Regions from separate parts of the Homo sapiens genome. Here region 1 is linked to region 2. Evidence: promoter capture Hi-C in human tissues and cell types (Jung and others, 2019). All regions are on one chromosome and are shown on one strand. Each heading gives the region's core, a stretch centred on a gene start or on the middle of the fragment in contact. The rest is flanking DNA. Distances are from core to core; before and after follow the strand shown.

Evidence for each region. Contacts are between HindIII fragments. The study calls those that stand out against the background at their distance.
Region 1: a contact is called between the fragment with the promoter of EVPLL here and a fragment that was not itself captured in region 2, in 1 of the 25 tissues and cell types used here (dorsolateral prefrontal cortex).

Annotation. Positions count from the first base shown.
Region 1 is chr17:18,375,949-18,381,854 of GRCh38, forward strand. EVPLL (envoplakin like) reads left to right here and starts at 1,830. Exons shown (of 11, transcript NM_001145127.2): 1 at 1,830-2,035; 2 at 4,954-5,052; 3 at 5,419-5,573; 4 at 5,655-5,782. The coding sequence starts at 4,990. RefSeq lists an enhancer at 4,131-4,632. The HindIII fragment of the contact is 26,383 bases long and covers 1-5,906 here.
Region 2 is chr17:16,818,817-16,824,375 of GRCh38, forward strand. LOC105371552 (a long non-coding RNA gene) reads left to right here and starts at 3,611. Exons shown (of 3, transcript XR_934251.1): 1 at 3,611-3,692; 2 at 5,156-5,385. It also overlaps the pseudogene KRT16P6. The HindIII fragment of the contact is 7,379 bases long and covers 1-5,559 here.

The DNA.
Region 1 (5,906 bases), core at 580-3,079, 1.6 Mb after region 2:
AGCCTGGGAGACAGAGCGAGACTCTGTCTCAAAAAAAAAAAAAAAAAAGAAAAGAAAAGGTGAGTCAGGGAGGCCAGGGGTGAGGCTGGCGTTGGCCCCCATAGTCATTCACACAAACGGCTCCTTTCTGAAGACAGTTGATTGCAGGCGTACAATGAGTGGTTAGAAGACAAGTGTCACCAGGAATAAAGTGGGAGCAGGCTGGGGCAGAGGCTGAGTGGCCAGTCATCTCTATTGGCATCTCACTCAAGACATGGGCCGGGAGCTGAGGACACTGGAGACCACTTTGTTTCCTCATTGCTGTCAGGGGCCTCTGCTGCCCTCCCCACCCCCACTGCCCCTGTCAGCTCCTCCACCTCTAGGAATGGGGGTTTACTGCATCCCCTCTCCATGGCCGAGTTCAGGAGCTTCCCATGAGATTCACCCAAAAAGGGCACAGGCCTTTTCTATCCCATGGGGGCCTGAGGCCAGTATCAGGTGTCGGTCCCTGGTCTCCCCCATCTGCTGGGACCTTTCTCTCCTGCCAGGCTGTTTTGTCCTCAGCGAGGCCTGCCAGGATGACCAGGTGATGTCACCCAGTCCGCCTGTTCCATCCCCTGGCTCCCCCTCAAGCCCTCCTTCCACTAAAACCACGGGGATTTCAGGAATGACCTGGAAAGCGACGCCACCTCTGCAGAAGGGGCCTGTTACGCTGGGCCAGTAAAATGAGCGCCTGGAAAGGGGGGTCCCATCGCCCCTTTCTTGAAGACGCTGAGGGTCACCACAGAAGGAAAAGGCAGCAGCCCTGGTCCCCAGTGTGAGGAAAAGACCAATAAGCTGGCATCACTCTCTGCCACTCAATCTGACTTCATAAAAGCCACCAGGGGCCATTTCTGGGTGGGGGAAGAGGCAGGTAGGAAAAGCCAAGTGCATCGGGCTCCCGGGCCTCAGCCAGAGCCCAGGCTTAGTGGCACCTGAAGCCAGCCCTGGTGCTGCTGCACTGTGCACACTTTATAAAATGGGGCCGGGCATGGTGGCTCATGCCTGTAATCCCAGCACTTTGGGAGGCCAAGGCGGGTGGATCACTTGAGGTCAGGAGTTCCAGACCAGCCTGGCCAACATGGTGAATCCCCTTCTCTGCTAAAAATACAAAAATTTTCTGGGCGTGGTGACGGACACCTGTAATCCCAGCTACTTGGGAGGCTGAGGCAGGAGAATCGCTTGAACCCGGCAGGCAGAGGTTGCAGTGAGCCGAGATCGTGCCTTTGCACTCCAGCCTGGGTGACAGAGCAAGACTTTGTCTCTTAAAAAAAAAAAAAATGGACCTTGTGCCAGTTGTCTGGAGTGAACGTCCCCTGGCTGCCCCATCATGTCAGTGGAGAACACAGAGCCAGGCCCTGGGCTGGCAGGACACCCCCTCCTCTCCTGGGGGATTGAGAGCTGTGGGTGGGGGCCAGCCTGGCAGCAGGGCCTCTGAGCTGGCTGGAGATGTTTATTAATCCTGAGCTCCAGAGCTGGGGCCTCTCCGCTGAGCCTGCGCCTGCATGTGCACGTCTGTCTCCAGACCCATCTGTCCTGGCCCAGCTCCTTCCCTATCTGGGTGTAATCGCCACCGCGCTCCCCTGGGCATGTGGGTGTAACAAGTCCAAACCTTCTGTGGGAGTCGGGCAGGCTCGGCCCCACCCTCAAGGCTGTGCCCTTTCCTCCCAGACTGGTTATGCAAGAGCAGGCATGAGTGTGGTTTTTGTGGGTGCATGCGCGGCAGGCCTGGGGCCTGGCCGCCTGCTGCCTCACCTGCAAGGAGGGGCCTCCCAGAAACTCCCTTCCCCAATGCCCAGCCGCCCCACCTTGCCAGACTTAGCTGACCAGCCAGCAAGGACGCCCGCTGCCTCCCACCTGCCCTCCTGCCCTCCTTCACCAGCCAAGCCCAGCCTGAGCCAGCACCTGCCTTTATGACCATGTTCAAGGGACTGAGCAAAGGCTCCCAGGGGAAGGGGTCCCCCAAGGACTCCCCAGCCAAGGGGTCCCCCAAAGGCTCCCCCAGCAAGCACAGCTGGTGAGTGGGACTAGGGGATGGGGAGCCAGGGAGCTAGGGTGGGGGTGGTGCCAGGCCCAGGTCCTTGAGCCACCTGGCGGCGGCCCAGAGCCCAGGACCAGCCCCGTGCTGGCATTTGGTGTCCCGAGGACAAAGGGCCCAGGGGTGGACTCTCTCCCTGCCTTGGGAGCCGCAGGCCCAGGCCGAACTTCAGCCCTGGCAGGAGGCAGGGGATGGCCTGGGGCTCCCTACATCCTCTAAGGGGGCCTGTGGGCCACAGATTGATGCTGCTCAGCGGGAGAAGTGCCGGACAGGAGCCTGCACTGATGCCCTCCTCTGCCAGAGGCTGGGACACAGGAGAGCCTGGTTGTGTGACTGCAGCTCTGCCCCAAGGCTCTACTTGGCTGGGATGACCCCTGGAGCCTGGGTGCAGGGCATGAGGACTGAGGGGGTGGGGTGGGATCCCTGGGGTAGGGATGCAGGGGCTGTGCTGCCTCCTGCCTAAGCCAGAGCCCTCCCCAGAGCTCTCACCCAGGGCCTTGTTGTATTGAAGAGTTAGGGGTTCATGGCTGGGCGCGGTAGCTCACGCCTATAATCCCTGACTTTAGGAGGCCAATGCGGGAGGATTCCTTGAGCCCAGGAGTTTGAGACCAGCCTGGGCAACATAGGGAGATCTTGTTTCTATAAAAAAAATAAAAATAAAAAACAGCCAGGTATGGTGGCTCATGCCTATTGCTTGAGCCCAGGAGTTTGAGGCTTCAGTGAGCCATGATCACACCACTGCGCTCCTGCCTGGGTGACAGACTGTGACTCTGTCTTTAAAAAAAAAAAAAATCCTGGTGCAATACCTCATGCCTGCAATCCTACCACTTTGGGAGGCTGAGGCGGGTGGATGACTTGAGCCCAGGAGTTGGAGACCAGCCTGGGCAACATGACGAAATCCCATCTCTATAAAAAATATACAAAAATTATCTGGATGTAGTGGTGCATGCCTGTAGTCAGAGCTACTTGGGAGGCTGAGGTGAGAGGATCACTTGAGCCCGGGAAGTCGAGGCTGCAGTGAGCCGTGATCACTCAACTGCACTCTAGCCTGGGTGACAGAGCAAGACCCTGTCTGTTAAAACAAAACAGAATAGAGCTGGGGCTTCCTTTTCCAGTGGGTGTGGTGCAGGGGGCACTGGGCCTCCCTTGGACCACCCGGTTCTCTGGGGCCCAGCCTCAGCTCTCTGTGGATGGATTGGGTGGCGCTCTTCCCACTCACTGGCTTCAGCTCATCTGCAGAGGAGGCAGCAGCCCGCCTGGGTCCAGGGTGTCGAGATAAGCTCAGGGATGAAAAGCTGGTGTGGGAGTGGGGGTGCCCATTACCCCGATAGGGATCAAGGCACCAACAGACACCGAGTCTGGGCGTCTGGGCCGACGGGAAAGACAGTGGTTAAGACTCTCAGCTAACACTCTCACTGAGTGACCTGTCCTCCCTGGGGCACCTGAGCCCCACCCAGGGTGGAGTGTGCAGCTCCTGGTGGGAGCAGCCATCCCAGGAGGCGGGACCTGAGCAGGAGTGCCCAGGGCCCAGCACCTGCAGCTCCCACTGTCCAGGCAGGCTCCCCAGCAGTGTGCTCCTGGCCTGGGGCAGCTCAGTCCTCAGGGCCCTGTTGGCTCTGGATCACCTCACGTGCGATCCACTCGTTTGACATGAACTTACTGAGCACTTACTGCATGCCAGGACTGTTCTAGGCACTGGAGATGTCGCTGTAGACAGAACCAACAGGCCCCTGCCTTCAAGGCACTAGCCCTCTAGTGGGATAAAAACTAACACGTGCTGGGTGCCGACTCTGCACCAGGCCTGCACTGGATGTTTCAGACAGATAAATTCAATTAATGCTCACAATAGCCCTAAGGCATAGATATTTTTATTAAAATCCTGCTTTACGAGTGAGGAACCTCAGGCACAGAGAGGTTGAGTAACTTGCCCAAGGTCACACAGCATTAATGATGGAGAAAGATGAAACCAGGCTGTCTTGGCCACAGAGTTCTTCCAGACTGCTGTGCCTTCACCAGCACTGTCCCGTTGCCTGGGGGGGCCCATCCTTTGACCCAGTTCAAGGCTTCCCCTGCCCCAGGATAATGATCCCCCATAAGGCACTGTGCTCATAAGGCTTGGACCAATCTGCCCTCTTTTAGGTCTGCTTGGCCTTGTGACCTCCACAGAGTGACTGCATGCACACAGCAGGTGCTCTATGGAGGCTGCAGGGCGAATGCACAGAAAAAGCCCTGGGGTGGAAGCAAGGTTTCCCCTCCGTCCCTGACCACGTAACTCAGAGCAAGTTAGGGCACAATCTGGGCTTTGAACCCTCAACTCTGGAGAATGTTAGGGTGCCCAGCAGTCTCTTGCGCCTGCCCCCGCTCCCCGACTCTGACAGTGTGAGGCTCCTCTAGACGGCTGCTGAAGCCAGCACTCTGGCAAAGCTCCCTGGGGTGGAGGAGGTATAGGGGAACACAGGGCTGGAGTGGGAGGAGGTGGGGGTGGGGGGCATGCTGCTGCCTCCCTGCCCCAGCCAGCCCAACTGCCCCTCCCAGGGCCCAGCCAGGCTGGCTCAGGTACTACCGGCTCACAGGGGGGAAGTGGCAGGCAGCTGGGTGGGGTCGGGAACTCACTGCCAGCACAGCTGGCTGAGGCTGGGACACCGAGGCCGCCTGACACCCAGCACCACACAGACCTGAGACCCTCACCTTTTGACCCCTCATGTGGCGGGGCAGTGCTAACACCCCCAACCAGGTCTAGCTCACAGAGCCTCCTGCAGAGAGAGACCCCAAAGTCAGGGCAGTGTGCTAGGCTGTGGGGGCGGGATGGGGTGGAGAGAGGGCAGGGGACGCCACCTGGATGGGGCACAGAGGGGCCTCTTCCACCGAGCTGCCCACTGTCCCCTCCACCCACCAAGAATGCCACCCAGGAGCTGACCCTGCTCATCTCCCACATGCAAGCCAGCGCCGACCAGGTGGAGCGGGACATCCTGGAGACGCAGAAGAGGCTGCAGCAGGTGAGAACCCGGCAGCAGTTGGCAGGGTGTGGGCAGGCTGGGTGGCATGGGAGGCCCATCATCAGGCCTGGCACTCCCTGAGTGCCCCCTGGTGATGGTGAAGATGGGACAGATGACATTTGTCCTGCACCGCCTGTCCCCTAACACACGGTGGGAGAGAGGGCTCAACTTCCTTCTTTGCTGGGCTCCCCTGTGTCTTTGTCACCTGCCTCATGGACGCCCTGGGCCTGACCCTGTGCCTGGCGTGGGCCTCGAGGTTGGCCAGCATAGCTGGGGTCCCAAAGGTGGGGCTCAGGCCCACAATGATGGGCAGCAGGGGTGTGGGGGCTCTGGACCCTGGCAAGTCTGCCCATCCCCTGCCCACAGGACCGGCTGAACAGTGAGCAGAGCCAGGCCCTGCAGCACCAGCAGGAGACGGGCAGCAGCCTGAAGGAGGCCGAGGTGCTGCTCAAGGACCTCTTCCTGGACGTGGACAAGGCCCGGCGGCTCAAGCACCCGCAGGCTGAGGAGACTGAGAAGGAGTGAGTGGGGCTGCGGCAGGGCTGGGGGTCCCTGGGGAAGACCCAGGCCCAGCCCTGACCTGCTGGCCACCTTCTTGACAGCATCGAGCAGCTGCACGAGCGGGTGACCCAGGAGTGTGCGGAGTACTGTGCCCTGTACGAGAAGATGGTGCTGCCGCCCCGACGTGGGATCCAAGGTCGACTGGGCACACGTGCTGGAGCAGAAACAGGTCAGGAGCTCAAAGTCACACCCCAGTGTGATCAGAGGGTGATACGGAACTGCATTTAACCCAGGGCCTGACTGTAGGCTTGAACAGTCAGTGTATAGTGGTGTCTCAGGGGTCTGGGCAGGGA
Region 2 (5,559 bases), core at 622-3,121:
GCGATCCAGAGGAGAACTGGGAGGAGGAGAGGCTGTGAAGACAGAAAAGGGCAGGGTCATTAGATACATGGTGGGGCCGTGAGAGTGCCATGGTGGGGCGGATTAAGGGGAGGGCCAAGACTCATTGGGCATCCTCGCCCTCCAGCAGGCGGCGGTAGGTGGCGATCTCCTGTTCCAGCCGCATCTTCACGTCCAGCAGGATCTTGTACTCCTGGTTCTGCTGCTCCATCTCGCAGCAGAGCTGGGCCAGCTGCTCCTCCACACTGCCAATCATCTCCTGGATTTGGGCCAGCTGCACACAGTAGCGGCCTTTGGTCTCCTCCAGGCTGTTCTCCAGGGATGCTTTCTGTGAGGGAGGGAAAGGGAATCAAGGATTAGTGAGTGTGGCCATTCTCTCCCTGCCAGTTCTGGGTGCACCACCGGGCCTGGCACCATTCCTAACATGCTGAGCTGGGACTGCAGCTCAATCTCCAGGTTCTGCATGGTGTGCCAGAGCTCCGAAATCTCGCTCTTGCCGCTCTGCACCAGCTCGCTGTTGGTGGCCACCTCGTGGTTCAGCTTCTCTGTCTGCAAAAAAGAGAACACCATTCACACCAGAAGTCCCCAGAAGGCAGGTGGTCTGGGTTCCTTCCACCTCAAATGACACCCACCTTAGTGAAGAACCGTTCCTCTGCGTCCTTGTGGTTCTTCTCTGCCATCTTCTCGTACTGGTCACGCATCTCGTTCAGAATGTGGCTCAGGTCCACACCAGGTGCATCGTCCATCTCCACATTGACATCTCCACCCACCTGGCCTCTCAGGGCATTCATCTCCTGCACTGCCAGGGACAGTCCACAGTCAGGAGTTCCACCACGGCAGCAGATTGGGGTTCCTTAGTCAGGCCTGAATACTGCCCTCCCAGAATCACAATTCTATCTTGACTCTCCCTTCCCTCTCTCTCTCTCTTTTTTTTTTTTTTTTTGACAGGGTCTAGCCTTGTTGCCCAGGCTGGACTCAAACTCCTGTGTTCAAGTGATCCTCCCATCTCAGCCTCCCAAGTAGCTGGGACTATGGGCATGCACCACCGTACCCAGTCTCCCTGCGCTTCTTTTAAGCTGGCTTTTCCATATAGTTCTCACCTCCTCATGGTTCTTCTTCAGTTAGGCCAGCTCCTCCTTCAGGCTCTCAATCTGCATCTCCAGGTCAGCTCTGGCCAGGGTCAGTTCGTCCAGCACCCCAGCACCTGGCGCATGCCATTGATGTCGGCCCCCACACTCATGCGCAGGTTCAACTCTGTCTCATACCTGGAATGACCCCAGAGAAAAGGAATGATACACCCATCCTGACCACAGTGAGGGCTTTGTTCTCTTCTCCCTGCAGCTTCTCCCAGAGCTGGTGCCTTGTGGGTGGTTTAAGGAGCCAATCTTGAAAATGGCATGGTTGAACACAGTGCCCATTGATTGCTCAGATATGAACATTCCTGGGGCCTGGGGATGAGGCAGTTCATCTTGCTGCAGAATTCAGGAGGGGGTTGCGCTTCTAGCTTCAGCCAACAAATAATGCATAAGTCCTCCAACTATGATTCCCTCCTATACTTCAAGGGCAGCTGGGGAAGTGGAAAGTGCCTCTCCCTAAAGCAGCAGTTCTGAAACCTGGCTGTGGACCAGAATCTCCCAGCTAACCTGCTATAAATAGCTGAATCAAAACTCCAAGGGTGGGGCCCAAGAGTCTTATTCTTTTATAAGCACCCCAGGGAGTTTTCATGCAGCTATTCTGGCACTGGCTAGTTCTATTTGGGAAACACTGCTCAAAAAATGCCCTACTTTGGGGACACTGGATGTTCTGGCCCACCACTGCAAACTCGCTTGGTGCGGAAGTCATCTGCGGCCAGACGGGCGTTGTCAATCTGCAGAAGGACATTGGCATTGTCCACTGTGGCCGTGAGGATCTGCAGGATGGAAAGGGCACAGGTAATTTGTCAAATGGACTTCACAAGCTGGACTTCACTGTAACCTACATTAAGCTCTTGCTTCATGTTCTTGCCTGAATTCCCCTTTCCCCCCACAAAACTTGACCATAGCAGCCTAAAGGAAAACAGATGCCCCAGGCCTGTCCTAAGACTTTGCTAACTCATGGTCAACAGAGGGGGTAGATGCAGCCCCGGGCTTAGAATCAAAAGCCCAGGAGTTCTGGTCGCAATTCTGCCACTGACTTGCTGCAAAACCTAATGGGTCTTGGGGCTTCAAGTTCCCCACCTCCAAGTGAGGAGAATAATCTGAGGCTCCCTAGCCCTCCTTCCTGAGCTGGCCTCTCTTCTCTCTGCAACAGCCAGCCCTGCCAGTCCTCTGCAGAGATGCACATTCCTTTTCAAGCTCACGGGCCATGGGACTTCAAATGGAACTTTCTCAAGAGATAAAACCCAACTGACACAGGGGATTAGAAAAGAGGACTCGGGGGAAGAATAAGAAGATATATTGGCCCCTGAGTCTGACTGGAGTTCCCCACATCATCATTGAATTTCCCTAATCCATGCAAGGCATTAGAGCCCAGCAGACTCCCGCAGGGAGGGCTCCCAGGTGATGTGGGAGCAGGGGGGAGGGGGCTGGAGACAGGGCACAAGCCTGCCAGGCTCCCTTTGTGCAGGGCACGTCAAGGGGCCACACTGATTGTCTCTGCAGGCTCTCCATGCCTGCCTGGCTGTGGGGAGGGACCAGACTGTACCAAGGCTTATGGGCGGCGGCAGCCACAGCCCAGACTAGTGAGCTAATGAGCGGTTTGGATGTCTTGCCTGGTCCCGTTAGAGCCTCGCTCCTCCCCTGTGCTGGAAGGTAGGACACAAGGGACCCAGCCTTGGCTCTGCCATTAATTTGCTATGTGACCTGCAGCTGGTCACAGCACCTCTCAAAGCTTCAACTGCTTCCTCTGTAAAATGTAAGGACAGGAATCACTGATCTCACTTGATCTGAGGATTTGACATCAGAAGGGGATGAGCAGGCTGGAGAAGGAGAGAGCATCCTCTCACTGATCAGCTCTTAGGGCATCCAAGACCTCGAAAGAAGGGATCTGGGGTGGGCTCTGTCCTATGGAGAAATCTTAAGGTGTCAGTGTCCTGGGGCATCTATTGTTCCCAGAAGGAGCTAGCTGGAATGGCACCTTCTGCTGCCCATTCACCCACCTTGTTCCTCAGATCCTCGATGGTCTTGAAGTAGGGACTGTAGTCTTTGATCTTAGCAGGCCGCTGCCACTGGTACCAGTCATGGATCTTCACCTCCAGGTCAGCGTTGGCCTCCTCCAGGGCACGCACCTTGTCCAGGTAGGAGACCAGGCTGTCGTTGAGGTTCTGCATGGTCACCTTCTCACTGCCCACCAGAAGGCCATCACCACCAGCAAAGCCACCACCCAAGCCACCACCGAAGCCAGCACCAAGGCCACCACCATATCCTCCTCCAAAGCCACTACCGAAGCTGCTGCTGCTGCTGAAGCCACCGCCATAGCCGCCCCCCAGCCTGTAGGCTCCCCCAGAGGAGAAGCAGGAGGAGGAGACAGACAGGCCACCCCTGTAGGTGCTGGGGGCGCGGCACGACCCTCCGGCCAGGACGGAGGAGATGTGGCTGGAGCCGCCCCCGATGCCGCCCCCGATGCCGCAGGAGCCCTTCATGGAGCTGGAGGAGGTGAACTGGCGGCTGCAGGTGCTCATGGTGCCGAGGAGGGAGGTGAGTGAGCGAGCAGTTGGCTGAGTGAAGAGAAGGTGCTCAGGTAAATTGGAAAGGGATGCGAGTGCTTTATACTCATGGGTAGGGGGCGGGCCTGGCACTTTCCATTCCCCTTGGCTTTCATCACCCACAGGCTAGCGCCAACTCCCAGCCAGGTCCCTCCTCTCCTCCACCTCATCATGTCTGTCATATTTTACTGGAAACTCATTGTTTGGGGTGTTTTGGGCTTTCTTGTCCCGCCAGGCGTGATTCACAGGGGGAGGTATGGGCCTGCAGGCTACACTTTCCCATGGGGCCCCGGGAGTCCCAGCCCTCAGGAACCCGCACACTGGGCTCAGCCAGGGTGACAGAGAGCAGGGCCTCTGCACCTTAAACCTGGTGACCTGCTAGCTCTCCATGAACTGGATGGGCCTTTAACATCCACTTAGAGGAAGCCCACCACTGCAGGGGACAGATACCCAGCTGGAGAGCACCGGCATGGCAAGGTCACCTTGGGCACAGAGAGGCCTCCCTCACCATGACCCGCTGTTAGAGACAAGGAGGTCTGGGGGGCCCTCCCAGGCCTGACCTGCCATGCTGTGCTGAGAAGCCTGTCCCATCCCTGAAATACACTCAGCCAGTCAGGTGTATGGTGATTCCCACCCCAACACCCCCATCAAAGAGAAATCCAGGCAGCTCTCCCCAGCCCTGGGCACAGACCCTAATTTCCTCCCTACGGTGAGGATCTGACATCCACCACACCATAGGGCGGGTGGCCTCATGGAGGCCAGGAAACAGCCTGGAGTCAGGTGGGTCCTGGCTCTGCCATTTACGGCCCCGTGACCCAGGGCTTGGCGCTTCTCTGAGCCTCAGTGTTCTCATCTGCAAAGTGGGAGTCATACCATCTACTCTGCCTACTGCAGTCAGCTGTGAGAAGCCAATGCGACAGCGTATGTGAAAGGCTTTTGTAAACCGAGTATGGCAAGAAGCCTGGTTGGCATTGTTGTAGCCCAGGCTTAGCCCCAGAGTGGATGGAGCTGCATCCAGGAACAGGCCTAGGGGGGCCTTTTTTTCTTCCAGCCCCAGATATCCTCTCAGACCCCCAGAACATCCCTAGTGTAGGCAGAAGTCTGGCTCAGGTGCCCTCGTTTGAGCCCCTTGTGGAACTGGCCCAGGAGATGTTCTGGGGAGGAGTAGAGGCTGGAGTGGTGCCAGGCTGTGCCAAGGGCAAGGCTGAAGTGGACACGAGGGTCCCTGACTCCTGAAGCCCCAAGGGTCAGGGGACATTTTTAGGAGTCCACTTGGTCCTGCTTTGGAGGTGTGTATATCAAAAGTTCAGCAATCTCCCAGACAACCTCCCAAAGCAAACCCTTCCGGCCCCCACCCCACCCTCCCATCAGCCCCTGGGCTCCACAGACCCCAGCAGGCATGTTGGGAGGAATGTGGTCGTGTCTGGGGCTGCCTGACACGTCCTATCTCCTCAGACAGGCCCCAACAGCCCCTGCTGGAGGCTCCACTGCTCTTCCTGGGATCAACTGTTCCTAGAAGAGAAGCAGGACCTCTCTCACCCCACCCCCAACCTTGACTGTCACCAAAGAAGAAGCCAGAGAGGGGAGCCCCCCACTACTGTGGCCTAGGAGCTTGGAAGACAATACTGAGACAGACACCTGTGCTGTGGGCTCCCCAAATCTGCCAGCAAAGGACTCTCGAGGATGTGAGTAAGCCAGGGCCCCACCCCGCTCCACCCACCCCTGACAGACACTCCTAATCTCCCTGCAGAGAATGGTCCCCCCACCCTGACCCAGTCCTACAATTTCCCCAGAGAGAGGCAACAGGGGTTTTGGCTGAGGGGCAGATGCTTTTGTTGGGAGGCATGTTGCTGTTGGCT